Linked DNA regions of Homo sapiens: region 2 is linked to region 1. The links are contacts of gene promoters, found by promoter capture Hi-C in human tissues and cell types (Jung and others, 2019). All regions are on one chromosome and are shown on one strand. Each heading gives the region's core, a stretch centred on a gene start or on the middle of the fragment in contact. The rest is flanking DNA. Distances are from core to core; before and after follow the strand shown. Region 1 holds the start of GCLM (glutamate-cysteine ligase modifier subunit). Region 2 overlaps DR1 (down-regulator of transcription 1).

Region 1 (7,238 bases), core at 1,189-3,688:
TTATACCTAAAACCATAAAAACCCTAGAAGAAAACCTAGGAAATACCACTCAGGACATAGGCATGGGCAAGGACTTCATGACTAAAACACCAAAAGCAATGGCAACAAAAGCCAAAATAGACAAATGGGATCTAATTAAACTAAAGAGCTTCTGCACAGCAAAAGAAACTACCATCAGAGTGAACAGGCAACCTACAGAATGGGAGAAAATTTTTGCAATCTACCCATCTGACAAAGGGCTAATATCCAGAATCTACAAAGAACTTAAATTTACAAGAAAAAATCAAACAACCCCATCAAAAAGTGGGCAAAGTATATGAACAGACACTTTTCAAAAGAAGACATTTATGCAGCCAACAGACACATGAAAAAATGCTTATCATCACTGGTCATCAGAGAAATGCAAATCAAAACCATAATGAGATACCATCTCACACCAGTTAGAATGGCAATCATTAAAAAGTCAGGAAACAACAGGTGCTGGAGAGGATGTGGAGAACTAGGAACACTTTTACACTGTCAGTGGTAGTGTAAACTAGTTCAACATTGTGGAAGACAGTGTGGTGACTCCTCAAGGGCCTAGAACTAGAAATACCATTTGACCTAGCGATCTCATTACTGGGTATATACCCAAAGGATTATAAATCATGCTACTATAAAGACACATGCACAGGTATGTTTATTTTGGCACTATTCACAATAGCAAAGACTTGGAACCAACCCAAATGTCCATCAATGATAGACTGGATTAAGAAAATGTGGCACATACACACCATGGAATACTATGCAGCCATCAAAAAGGATGAGTTCATGTCCTTTGTAGGGAATGGATGAAGCTGGAAACCATCATTCTGAGCAAATTGTCGCAAGGACAGAAAACCAAACGCTGCATGTTCTCACTCATAGGTGGGAATTGAACCATGAGAACACTTGGACACAGGGTGGGAAACATCACACACTGGGGCCTGTCATGGGGTGGGGGGTTGGCGGAGGGATAGCATTAGGAGAAATACCTAATGTAAATAACGAATTAATGGGTGCAGCAAACCAACATGGCACTTGTATACATATGTAACAAACCTGCACATTGTGCACATGTACCCTAGAACTTAAAGTATTATAAAACAAAAAGTATAGACAAATCTTATTCAATCTTGAGTTCAGAAGATAGTTATATCGGGTTTCATTATAGTATTCTTGCTATTTTTGTATATGTTGGAATTATTTACAACAAATGTTAATTGTATGTTACAGTGCATCAAAATGTGTTTAAGTAGTGGTGGTGCTTGTGGGTAGCTCTTTCACTATAATAAAAAATCAATATCCAAAAAAAAAAAAAAAAAGCAGCGCAAGCTCGTTCAATGAACTCTTACCATCATTCATTCAGCCAACAAATATTTACTCAACATCAGGCTCAATTTCTAACTTCCTAGAAAGATCTTTTTTCCCATCCCTCCCCTAATTCTTACCATTTTACCAACTGGTTCATCTCTCTTTTCAATAGCTATATTGTCCCCGCTTATAATGAGAATCTCATTTTGCCTTTAATAATCTGATTCACCTCAACGAATGTGAAAGATTGTTGAGGAAAGCTCAATACATGTTCAATTTGATGTTTATACCGAGTCCACCACCACACGTGAAATTTAATAGGGGTAAATAATCTCGACCACCTCTAAAGGGGTGGGTGATAAAAGCTTTCTGTGATCTCACCGGCTCAAGTGTCCTCTTTAATCTGAATTCATCTGGAGAATAACTGCCCTATGATGTTCTTATAAAATTACTTGTTTCCTGTGCTTAGAACTTGTCTCTGGGTAGAGTGTACGCGTCTCAAGGGCAAAGACTCAGTCTTGTTCGTTGACTTCACACACTGCCAGCAAATAATGTGAATCAATAGACCTTTAACGGATGAAGAAAAATTAGCAGTTTGGGAGAAGGTCCTTGAAGGTAGCAAAGCGAAAAGAAGAAGGGGGCGCTTGCGCATAAACAGCTGCTTCTGAGAACGAAAACTACGTAGCATTTCCGAGTCCCGGTGGCCGCTCAGGCTGCCCTTTAAAGAGACGTGTAGGAAGCCCACCCTGGGGCGGCCGTGGGCGGAGCCGCGACCTGAACGCCGGGAGACCTCACCAGGCGGAGGCGGTGTCTACCTCACCAGGCGGAGGCGGTGTCTGCCTCGCGCTGTCCTCTGACCGCCAGGGGGAGCCCTGCCGCGCGCTGCGCTCCGGGCCGCGCCGCCACGCTCTCTCGACCCGCGCGCCCGCCGCGCACCACCCGTCGCCACGCCCGCCGCAGGCCAAGGGCCAGTCACTTGCGGGCCGGCGTCCCGCAGCCCATTCGCGCCCCGCCCCTGCCCCGCCGCGGGATGAGTAACGGTTACGAAGCACTTTCTCGGCTACGATTTCTGCTTAGTCATTGTCTTCCAGGAAACAGCTCCCTCAGTTTGGAATCAGCTCTCCCGCTGCGGCCGCAGTAGCCGGAGCCGGAGCCGCAGCCACCGGTGCCTTCCTTTCCCGCCGCCGCCCAGCCGCCGTCCGGCCTCCCTCGGGCCCGAGCGCAGACCAGGCTCCAGCCGCGCGGCGCCGGCAGCCTCGCGCTCCCTCTCGGGTCTCTCTCGGGCCTCGGGCACCGCGTCCTGTGGGGCGGCCGCCTGCCTGCCCGCCCGCCCGCAGCCCCTTCGCTGCGCGGCCCCTGGGCGGCCGCTGCCATGGGCACCGACAGCCGCGCGGCCAAGGCGCTCCTGGCGCGGGCCCGCACCCTGCACCTGCAGACGGGGAACCTGCTGAACTGGGGCCGCCTGCGGAAGAAGTGCCCGTCCACGCACAGCGAGGAGGTGAGCGTGGCGACACTCGCCGCGGGGCTCCCGGGGCAGGCCTCGGGCGGGGCCGGGCGGTTCCGGCAAGGGAGAAGCGCCCGCGGGCGAGGGAGGGTGGCAGGGCCTCGCGCGCACCTGGGCTCCGCCCGCGGTCAGATGCTGAGGCCAGTGTCGACGCGACCTTGGGTCCAAACCCGCTGCCGAGGGCAACGCGTCTAAAAAACTTAGCCGGTGCAGCTGCGCACTGAGTGACACCTCTCTCGGTGCTTAAGGCTGGTAGCAAAACTCTCAAACATCCTGGGTCCCTCTTCCTGGCACGGAGGTCACAGAGGGCCAGGACGTCGCTCCGTCTCTCTCCACATCTCTCGCTTCCTTCCCCCACCCTGTCCAGGTAAAGGAATATTTTCGGAGATTATCCTTTGGTGCATTCAGATGAAGTAGTATTCATAGTACACCTAACTTTTAGAATGTTGACATTAGACTCTCTATTGCAGTGAGGCAAATGAGTAAGCACTCAATTTTGGCTTTGGAATACCCTAAATACCCTGACTTTAGTCATTACACATTTTATGCACTTATCTGTGCGTCTATGTATGCTTTATCAGTACACATTCTATGCATGTAACAATATCATTGTACATTCTATGCATGTAACAGAATATCACATGTGCCCCATAAATATGTACAAATATAATCTATCAATTCAAAAATTAAAGTTTTGTAAAAACTGGAAAATAAAAAGACTAGTCACTAGTTGGAGGTGACAGAGATTAATCTGGAATTACAAACTTGTTACCTATTTGTTGGCCATTTCTGAGCGGATAGTCATCCACTGCACATTGTGCATATTGGTGGTATGGGACAATTTTAGTATTTAAAAAATAACAAAATCTTTAGATTTAGGAGCTATATGACTTTGGAAAATTACTTTAAAGTTGGATAATAACACCTTCCTCATCAGGTTGTTGTGAGAATTAAGAGGTAATATATGAAAACGCTCACCATGCAGGCATCTATCTCCCTGTCATCTGGTTCCATCAGAAAGATAAATCTTAATTAAGAGAAAAACCTTCCTAAACTATGTGTGTTTAGAAAAACCTTCCTAAATCAGCTGTGTTCCTAAGTGGTTTCTGCTCTCTTCTATGAGATGTTGGTAACAGACCATGCAGCAGCACACGGCATCCCTCTGAGTTAAGTGCTGGACCTGTGCCCAGGCCTGTTGTTGGGGTCAGTGCCCATCAAGAGATGAGAACTCTTGCTTGTAACTTTAGTAGGAATCTGAGTCTGTACCATATTCTGTGTTCACGTTCCAGCTCAGTGTGTATGTTTTGTTTTATTTAAACCACCTACTTTGGCTGTTTCTCCCACAGATAAATATTTCTGTATTCGGTACATAGACTCTTAATTTCTTCCAGTACTGTTGGTGGTAGTTCAATACAGAATTTTGCACGTATATTGATATTATTGGGTGAAATTTTACCTATCTCACAATAGCATACTCTAAAGTAGTGACTCAAAAGAGTTTCTGACTGCAAACACAGTAAGAAGTACATTTTACTTTGCAATCCAGTTAATAGTTGTATAATCAGTATATCTGAAACAGGTTTCACAAAAAGATATTAGCCCTTATACCGTATATTCTGATTTTTTCTTTTATTTTAATTTTTAAAATGTTGATTTCTTGATGCTCAGAGTCACACACCACAGTTTGTAAAACATTGTTCAAAGGACTAATTCTGGTTTCTAGTGTTTTATTTAGGGTGCTTCATAACAGTAGGATAAAACTAAAGAAACTAGAAAACATTTCAGGAAAACTTGAAGGAATGGCATCATACTGTAGGGAAACTATGACTGCTTGGTAAGAGCAAAAGGGGAGGCACATTTTGTTTCTATGTAAAAGAACTTTGTAACACCCAGAGCTCCAAATTGGGATGTACTACTTGGAACAGTTCCGCTTCACTGAAGAAATTAAGTAAACTGAACAAATCACTTATTTTTGAGAAAATGTACGTGTTGGGTCAAGAGTTCAGTTAAATTTCTTACAAGGTCTCTTCTAGTTCTAATTTTTTAAAAAATGTTATGACCTCTGCCCAGATTTTTTGTCTCACTGGAATTTTATGAAATCAAATAGTTTGTAAGTGGACCATTATAGGACTGTTTTGCCCAGTTCTTTGTTGTAAGGGTGTTTGACCGGTTGAATCATGGTATTTAAAAAATTCTTATACAACTCCAGATCTAATGGTAGGCTAAGTTGTGGTGATGCTTATACTCAGTGATATTGGGTGTGTATTATAAGAATGAAGAGAGCGGAGAACAAACATAAACATTAATGTTAATGACAAACATTAACCCAAGTACAAGGTTAATGTTTAGTCAATATAGCAAACATGTAATTTACAAGATTAAAAATAATTAGGCTTGTGATAAAGTCAATGAATTTCCTACGTAATTGTAACATTAGACTGTTTTATTATTTGTCCTGACATTTTGCAGAATCCAAGATTAATTAAAGAAATGGTTTCAAGAAGAGGGTGAATACTATAAAAATAGACTTACCTTCCTGAATTGAGGAATTCATCAGGAAAGCCTCAAGTGTGCAAATGAGCCATCCTTCCAGAGGGAAATTTCTTAGAATTATCCCACGATTTGAGCCAAAGCACTTCCGATAGAATTTTTAACCTCTAGTTGGTTCTGCTCCTTCCATTTTTACTAATTTTTAAGAAAATACTATGACTTATAATTGTATCTGGAATGATTATCAACTCCTTTTCATCCACTGACTTAAATTTGATTATAAATATGCTTTACATAAAGATCTAGACCTTATAATTTGAATTCAAGTGAATTGTTGTGACTAGCATGTAAATTATTATTATGGATTGTAAATCTTAACATAGGTAGTTCTGTGCCCTTAAATTGATAAACCAGTTATCTCTTGTAATCATGTGTACTAAGATATACGTAGTAAAGTGATTGTATCAGTTTTTATCATAAGCAGTCATAGTTCAGATAGTTCAGAAGTTTAGTGTCTGCTGTTTCTATTAGGAAAGTGCTTTTGCAATTCAGGGGCTTGCCTCTAGTTACTCATTTGTGTTTTCATTGATTGCCCACAGAAGAATGCAAAACACTGTGTCCTTGGTTATCTAATAAGGCAGTGATTTCAGATTGCCAGGTTTGGCCCATTAGTGGTCATAAATCAGTTCAGTGAGTCATGGACCAGTATATTTTTTCTAATTAATATATTGGAAGCCATTAGAGTGCCTGGCATGTTGTGAGCATAAATACCGCTTTATGACTGTTTTGTTCCATTATATGTATATAGGTCTTTGCTCACTATGTGAATGTATGTCTTACTTTGGACTACTATCAAATAAGTCTGAAATACACTTTAATAAAGTATGTTTGAATTAATTTACAACATACTATAATATTTGTATAAATTTTTTTTTGTTTATCTAAGAAAACATGGAAGATAGGTTAGAGGTGCACCTAAATGTTACGAAATGACTTCTGGAGTGTCATACAAGTTGAGTTCTGCAAGATATGTCTATCCTGGTGGTTCTCAGACTTTAGAGTACGTAGATAAAGTACTCTCCTTAGGATGCTTGTTAAAATGAAAGTCCAAACTGCTCTTGGAGAATGATTCAGTGGGTCTAGGATTAGGCTCAGGAGTCTGAAATTTTAATAAACAGCACAGGTGAATCTGAGGTAGGATTTACCAGCCACACTTATTCTCTAATAATTTAATTTGTTTGTCTTTGAGAAATGTAGCATAGTTGTGATATGAATTCTAGTCAGACAGCCTGGGCTTGACTCCAAGTTCCTTTGTTTATAAACCTTATTTTTGTTTCTTTATGAATGCCTTTTTTTTTTTTTTTTTTTGGAAATAGAGTCTTGCTCTGTTGCCCAGGCTGGAATGAAATGGCATCATCTCAGCACACTATAACCTCCACCTCCTGGGTTCAAGCAAAATTGTCCTGCCTCAGCCACCCGAGTAGCTACTACAGGCTTGCACTACTAGGCCCACATGATTTTTGTATTTTTAGTAGAGACAGGGTTTCACCATGTTGGCCAGGCTGGTCTTGAACTCCTGACCTCAAGTGATTTGCCCCCCTCAGCCTCCCAAAGTGCTGGGATTACAGGCATGAGCCACTATACCTGGCCTATGAATGCTTTTGTGTCTCAACAGTTAGCTTAAATTTTCACTGGTACAAAAAAAGCTTTAAAGTAATTAGACAACTTCTTTAGTTCAAGAACATTTGAGAAACAAGAGTAGGATGAAAACAGGCCTGAATTTATGTATGTTGAAGGAAACAAAAACCTTGTAGGATTAAAATTGGGGTTTGTATGGTATTTCCTGTTGCTATCTTTTTTTTCCTGCTTATCAAATTAATATATTCTTATTGTAGAAGTACAGAAAAGTATA
Region 2 (7,238 bases), core at 3,135-5,634, 550 kb after region 1:
CCGCCTCGGCCTCCCAAAGTGCTGGGATTACAGGCGTAAGCCACCACACCCGGCCTGTAATTTCATTATAACATTGATGAAAAACAATTATTTACAACCAGGGCCACTGTCTGTGTGAATTTTGCATGTCCTCCACATATCTGCATGAGTTTTCTCTGGGTATTCTGGTTTCTTCTCAATTCCCAAAGATGCACGTTAGGTGAATTGGTACAGCTAAATGGTCCCAGTATGCGTGTGTGTGCCGTGTGAGTGCGCCCTGTGATGAAAAGGCATCCTGTCCAGGGTTGGCTCCCACTTTGCTCCCTGAGCTGCTGGGATAGGCTCCAGCTACCCAAGACACTGAACTGAAATAAGCAGGTTGAAAAACGAATGAATACAAATTACTGTAAAACGAAAATTTGTAAAGTATATAATAATCATACAAATGCACAATAAATGATGCAGTATGAAAGCACTCAGCAAGCCCACTTTATTTCTTATTTTTTGTTTTTGAACTGCATGGTGGTAGGAGGTGCTCCTTAAAATTTTCACTTCCCAACAGTTATTCCTTGATTTAACCCACTAGCACTACAACTGCTGTCACTCACTGATTCGCCAAATATTGGGTAAATAATTTTTACTTTTTTTTTTTTTTTTTGAGACAGGGTCTCATTCTGTCACCCAGGCTGGAATGCAGTGGTACCATCACGGCTCACCGCAGCACCGACTGTGGGATTGTTTAATGCAGGGTTTATCAATAACAACCCCATAAACATTTGGGGCTGGATAATATATATATTTTTTTTGAGATAGGATTTTGCTCTGTTGCCCAGACTGGAGTGCAGTAGCGTGATCATGGCTCACTGCAGCCTCGACCTCCCAGGCTCAAGGGATCCTCCCACATCAGGCTCCCGAGTAGCTGGGACTACAGGTGCAAGCCACCACCTCTGGCTAATTTTTGAATTTTTCTGTAGAGACGGGTTTCACCATATTACCCAGGCTGGTTCCGAACTCCTGAGGTCAAGCCATCTGCCCACCTCGACTTCCCAGTGTTGAGATTACAGGCGTAAGCCACCATGTCCAGCCAATTCTTACTTGTTTTTATCCTTTTTAAATGTATATAAAGCTCATATTAATCTCAATGTTTAATTTTAGAAGTGTTTTGGGTCTTTATTAGAAATTTGGTAGTGTTTTTGTAACCAGAAATATATGCCATAGGGACTTAACTCTTATTTATATCAGTTCACCTATGGTAAAATTGATTTCATTATATGTTGTTTTTCTTAAACTCGCAGTTTCCCAGAACCTATCAACAACATTGAGGACTTATTGTATTATAAATTATCTTTATATGAATATAAAGACTTTCCCTATTTCAATTGCGAATATACAGATCTGTGCACTCAAAAATAACAAGCCTATTAGGACTCAAACAGTTATTTGTATACCCACGTTCACAGAAGCATTATTCACAATAGCCAAAAAGCAGAAGCAACCCAGTGTCCATTAATGGATGAACTGATAAACAAAATACGGTATTTACATACTACGGCATATTTGGCCTTTAAGAGGAAAGAAATTCTAATACATGCTACAACATGAATGAACTTTGAAGACATTATGGTAAATGAAATAAGAATGAATCCATTTAGATATCCAGAGTAGTCAATTCATAGAGACTGAATGCTGGTTACCAGAGGCTGAGGAGAGAGGAGGTAATGGGTGGTTATTGTTTAATGAATACATAATTTCAGTTTGGGAAGATGAAGAGTTCTGTAGACGGATGGTGGTGGTGGTTGCACAATAGTATGAATATACTTAATGCCACAGAATTGAACACTTAAAACTGGTTAAAGTGGTGAATTTTACGATATGCATATTTAATCACAATAAAAAATGCTTATTAAAAGATGTACTAGTTATGAAATAGCATACCTCATCTGTTTCAAACTGGGTGTGGCTAACAATGAGGTAGAAAAGCAGCAAGCAGGTACAGAGATTTATAATGGCTGCTCTAGGTCCTATCGGGTAAAGGGATCAGCAGATGTGAAGTCAAGAGTCTCCTGTAAGATTTGACTTTCTTGGAAACATATTTTAATCCTGGGCCTCCTCTTTCCAAATCACCTATTTCTTTTAGTCTTTTTGCAGTGATACTGTGTGTTGCTTCTAACAGAGGTTCAGTTTCACAGCCTTTCCCTCAAGTGTCTTATCCTAAAAGTAAAACCTAGATGATCTAAGGTGGTGGTTTTCAACAGGGTGCAATTTTGCCTCCTATACTCGCAACACCCAGGGACAGTTGGCTATGTCTGGAGACATTTTTGGGTTGTCACAACTGGAAGTAGGGTGGGGAGTGGTGCTAATGACATCAAGTGGGCATAAGCCAATTATGCTGCTAGAAATCCTACAATGCACAGGATAGGCTCCCACAAACAAAGACTTAACCAACCCCAAATACTAACAATGCTTGGTTTGAGAAACCCTGTTCTAAGGTTTTTCTAAGTTGCTTGATTTATGGTAGAAACTGATCATAAGTTAAAAGTTTCCTCCTTTTGGATTGCTTGAGCCCAGGAGTTTGAGGCTATGGTGCATTATGATTATGCCTGTGAATAGTCACTGTAATCTAGCCACTGCAATCTATATTAAGAAACATAGGCCGGGCGCAGTGGCTCACGCCTGTAATCCCAGCACTTTGGGAGGCCAAGGCGGGTGGATCACGAGGTCAGGAGATCGAGACCATCCTGGCTAACACGGTGAAACCCTGTCTCTACTAAAAAAAAACAAAAAAAATTAGCTGGGCGTGCTAGCGGGCACCTGTAGTCCCAGCTACTCAGGAGGCTGAGGCAGGAGAATGGCGTGAACCCGGGAGGCGGAGCTTGCAGTGAGCCGAGATCGCGCCACTGCATTCCAGCCTGGGTGACAGAGCAAGACTCTGTCTCAAAAAAAAAAAAAAAAAAAAGAAAGAAAAGAAAAGAAAAAAGAAAAAGGAAACATAGTGAGACCCTGTTTCTTTAAAAAAAAAAAAAAAGTTTCTTCCTCTTATTCCTTACTTTCTCTTCTCATTTATTTTGAGGAAATAGGATAAGAACCAGTGGTAATACTTTAGGTGAAAGGAGGCTACTTATGTTATCATTCTCTTCACCCTGGCCGATCCTAACCATGACACTTTATATCCTGGGGGATGGTGAAAAACAGAGGAGGTGGGGTAGGACTTGTGGTCAAATTGTTGGGGACAGAGGCAAAAAAGAAAACAGCAACAAAAAAATACAAATGAAGAAATTGGAAGGCAGTGCCTATGCCATCTGAATTGGATAATTCTTCCTAATGGCCATTTGGATATAGATGAGTTGGACAGACATAATTTAGAAACCTATATAAGGAAATATCATGCATTTTAATGAGGTTATAACCCAAAATTTAAAATTCAATTAAAAAATTAAATCACAGATTTTCCCACAACATACTAATTCAACATACTACTTACGATTACTTAAAATTTGCATTTTTTCTAAGGAGCAATAACCTAATGAGTATGTAATACTAATGTGTCAGTTAATAAGGGCAATTACTTTTGCTCTTATTTTCCTGTTATATGAAATTAACAACATACCTGCTGCAATATAACTCATTTGGTACAATTTAGGTGTTTCGAGAAATTCAACCCACTAAGATCATTAGCGTAATTCATTTTTATGCTACACATTAAAATGGTGCCTTCTTACAGTCACTTTGGAAAACTGTTTGACAGTAAATACTAAAACTGAAAATATACACACCCTACAACCTGGCAATTCCATTCTTAGGTTTATACTCAATGGAAATGTATACACTCACCAAAAGACATGTATAAGAATGTTCTACACAGTACTATTCATAATAGCTCAGAATTGAAAAATTCTCAAAAGACTATTAATGGGAGAATGAATAACTTTTGGATGTAATGAAAAATGGATAAACAAACGGAAGACTATACAGCAATGAGAATGAATGAACTACAAATACATGCAACAATAAGAATGGATCTCACTTTGGCAGGTTGAATAACGGCCTCCAAAGATAGCCAGCGTATGAATCCCTGGAACCTGTGAATGTCACTTATATGGCAAAAGAGATTCTGCAGATGTGATTAAATTAAGGATCTTGAGATAGGGGGATTATCCCTGCTTTATGCAGGTGAGCCCTAAACTTAGAGGCAGGGAAAGATCTGACTACAGAAGAGAAGATGATATAATGACAAAAGCAAGCTTTGATCATAGAGAGGAAGGGGTCACAAGCCCATAAATACAGGCCGTCACTGGAAGCCAAAAAAGGGAAGAAAACATTCTCCCTCACAACCTCAATAAAGAGCCAACCCTGCTGATACTTTGATTTAGGCCTAATGAAACTGATTTTTGGACTTCTGATCTCCAGGACTATAAAAGAATAAATCTGTGTTGTTTTAAGTCACTAAGTTTGTGGTAGTTTGTTACAGTGGCAACAAGAAACTAAAATATTCACAAAAATGATGAATGAAAAAAAGTGTATTATGTATGATTACATTTACATAAAATAAAAAACAGGCAAAACTAATCTATGATTTTAGAAGTCAGGATAGTAACTTTCAGCAAGAAAGAAGACAGTGTTAAGATGGGGAAAGAGGAGGGCTTCTGGGGTACACATAATGCTCTGTGTTTTGATCTGAAGACTAGTATGTGAGTTTGTTTAATTTGTGAAAACCTTTATTTGTGTACTGTTTTGTGTGTGTGTGGTATATGCAGTTTTAAAAACTGATGCCTTTTAAACACTTACTAATCTGATAATCTGCCGAAAAAGAATATATAACATATATTCAAGGGGATGGAAAAATACTTACTGAACAATAATTTTATTTCTCAAGAACGCTGAAGATTTTGTTTCTCTCTTCAAAAGATTTAAAAAATTTTAACTGGCAAAACATAATAGTGACTCTTAAATGCTAAAAAAAAAAAAAAAAAAAAAAAAAAAAGAAAAAACCTAAAAATAAAATATTGCATAAGTAAGCTTTGTTATGCCTCGATCTTAGGACTGTAAATTATAAAAATACAAGTAAAACCACATTTTTTGAAATAACAGTAAACAAAAACAAAAGGCAGGTACTACATACCAAATGACCAAAATGTCTTTTGGGCCTAAGATTCTTGAAAATAGTAAAAATGGTAATAATAGAAATCTCTCTATAGAACATTAAATATAAAAACCATTTATAAAACACATCACAATTTTATTGCTTGAAGAATACAGCATATGAAATCACAAGAATGTCAAAATGAAAAGTCACTAGGCTTCAAACGTATAATACATTATCAGATGCAGTAAAATATTAACCTGAACTCTGCATCAGAAAAAAAAAAAAAGGTGTGGAAAATATCTAAGTTGTTTACTTAAGAAACAGATATACTTAAAATAGAAAGTATAAGGATGTTACAGTACAAATTAGAAAAGCCAACACGTATTAACTTATCGTTCTAGACTAGACTACCTTTGGTACTTAAACTTTTTAAAAAACAATTTCTTCTATCTCATCCAAATGCACTTCATGGGTATGACATCCATGAAGTAACTTCAACTTAAAACATTCAGCAAAATTAACCTTTTCACTTCATGGGGGAAGTATATTTAATAAATGTATAACAATATTTCCCTTTTACTAAAACTGCAAAATATGATCATTAAGAAACCTAACAGTTATAAAACTTTACTTACTTAGCTCTCCAATTAAAATTGGAATCCTGGGAGCCACAATCTATTTTTGGGCTTGGTGAATACATAAGTTTAAAAGATTTGGCAACTGACATAGGAATTTAATTACTTAATACTATCTTAAGTGACTTTTCCTTTCTGTTTCCAAAATATAGACATTATGCCATTTCTTCAACATCCTGGATTCCTATAAACACTACCATACTGTATTTATTAGAACCAAATTAAAGCTTCTCTAACAAGCAGGTAGAAACTATTTATGTTCCATATACGGCTGATAAGTTATAACACAACTTATGTTTCATATAGGGCTGATCAGTTAATTCATATAGGGCTGATCAGTTGTAACATAACTTCTTAAGCAAAACTAATCTTTTTTTTAAAGCTATCACTCAATTATGGAGACAATAATGTCATCTCAAAAGGTAATGTTGGACTCTAGGCCATCTAGTTGGGAAAATGTAAAAGTAATTCTAAAAACAATAAGTAAACTATAACTACAAGTTAAATTAAAAATCCCTCTCTCATAGCAAGCATGCTCATTAACTTTCATTTCTTTCCCCCAGCAAAGGTTTGAATATTCATAAACCTCAGTTAAACCAAGAGAACCAATGTAATTGTTTCAAAAGTACCACCTATATATTTGAATAATATGAGTATGGATGGACTAGGTAAGTAATACTATCAACAATTACTGAATTGGAGTGAAAGAGTAAAAATCATGACAGACTTCCAAACTGGGCAGTCTTTGAAATGTCATAGTGGAGCTCAAAATGAATTATGCTGTAATAAAACTATAGTTTTTACCTCTACACAAAACAGAAACAAAATAAAAAAACATAACCACCAAATTTATACAAATACTATTAAACATACTCCTTCCTAGTTTTTGAATGTCTTGAAGTTTTTCTAAACAAGTATATTGATCTGAGCATATATATTTATTGCCTATATATGTACTCATTTTAAAAGACAAATTCAGATACTACAGAACTGAACTCTTTCACCAACCCAATCCAATGTCTACTGATTCACACAGCACCCCCCCCTTAATAATTTAAAATTCACAAGTTTTAGTTTAGTTAAAAGGGCAGAGGAAATGCAAATGCAGATTTAGAGCTTTGTAGAAATTTCACTGTATTTTTATAAACTTGAAGTTATCTGTAACACTGTTTATTGATCAAACGAAGGACTCGCTGCTATCTAAAATTTCATAAACACCATTAAAAATTCAAAATTGATATTATACTGAACCTTAAATTTTCAATAGTTCAAAGAGACAGTTTTTACATGTATAGCACACAATAGATGAAACTTAATAGCAGACATCCCTAGAATACCAATGACAAGTCCACCAAGATGCATACAAAATTACAGATAAGCATTTCTTTCACTGTTTTTGTTGTGCAGGGAAAAACATTTATAGAAGAAATAGAAACTCAGCTGGTGAATTTCAGATATCATCATCATCTTCTTCATCCTGAGAAGATCCCGCCTGATTAGATGCACTGGCTGAGGCAGCAGCAAGCTGGGCTTGTTGGGCA

Evidence for each region. The method cuts DNA at HindIII sites, captures the fragments that hold promoters and counts their contacts. A contact is called where the count stands out against the background at its distance.
Region 2: a contact is called between a fragment that was not itself captured here and the fragment with the promoter of GCLM in region 1, in 1 of the 25 tissues and cell types used here (thymus).

What each region holds. Positions count from the first base shown.
Region 1 is chr1:93,904,630-93,911,867 of GRCh38, reverse strand. GCLM (glutamate-cysteine ligase modifier subunit) reads left to right here and starts at 2,438. Exons shown (of 7, transcript NM_002061.4): 1 at 2,438-2,830. The coding sequence starts at 2,705. LOC124904221 (a long non-coding RNA gene) reads right to left here and starts at 2,276. Exons shown (of 2, transcript XR_007066230.1): 1 at 1,714-2,276. RefSeq lists an enhancer at 1,915-2,074 and silencers at 2,115-2,354, 2,565-2,924, 2,975-3,024. The HindIII fragment of the contact is 8,708 bases long and covers 236-7,238 here.
Region 2 is chr1:93,360,549-93,367,786 of GRCh38, reverse strand. It overlaps DR1 (down-regulator of transcription 1), which reads right to left. Exons shown (of 3, transcript NM_001938.3): 3 at 1-7,238. The coding sequence ends at 7,148. Among named protein-coding and RNA genes, the nearest start is that of DR1, 18 kb to the right of the region's middle. The HindIII fragment of the contact is 6,300 bases long and covers 1,235-7,238 here.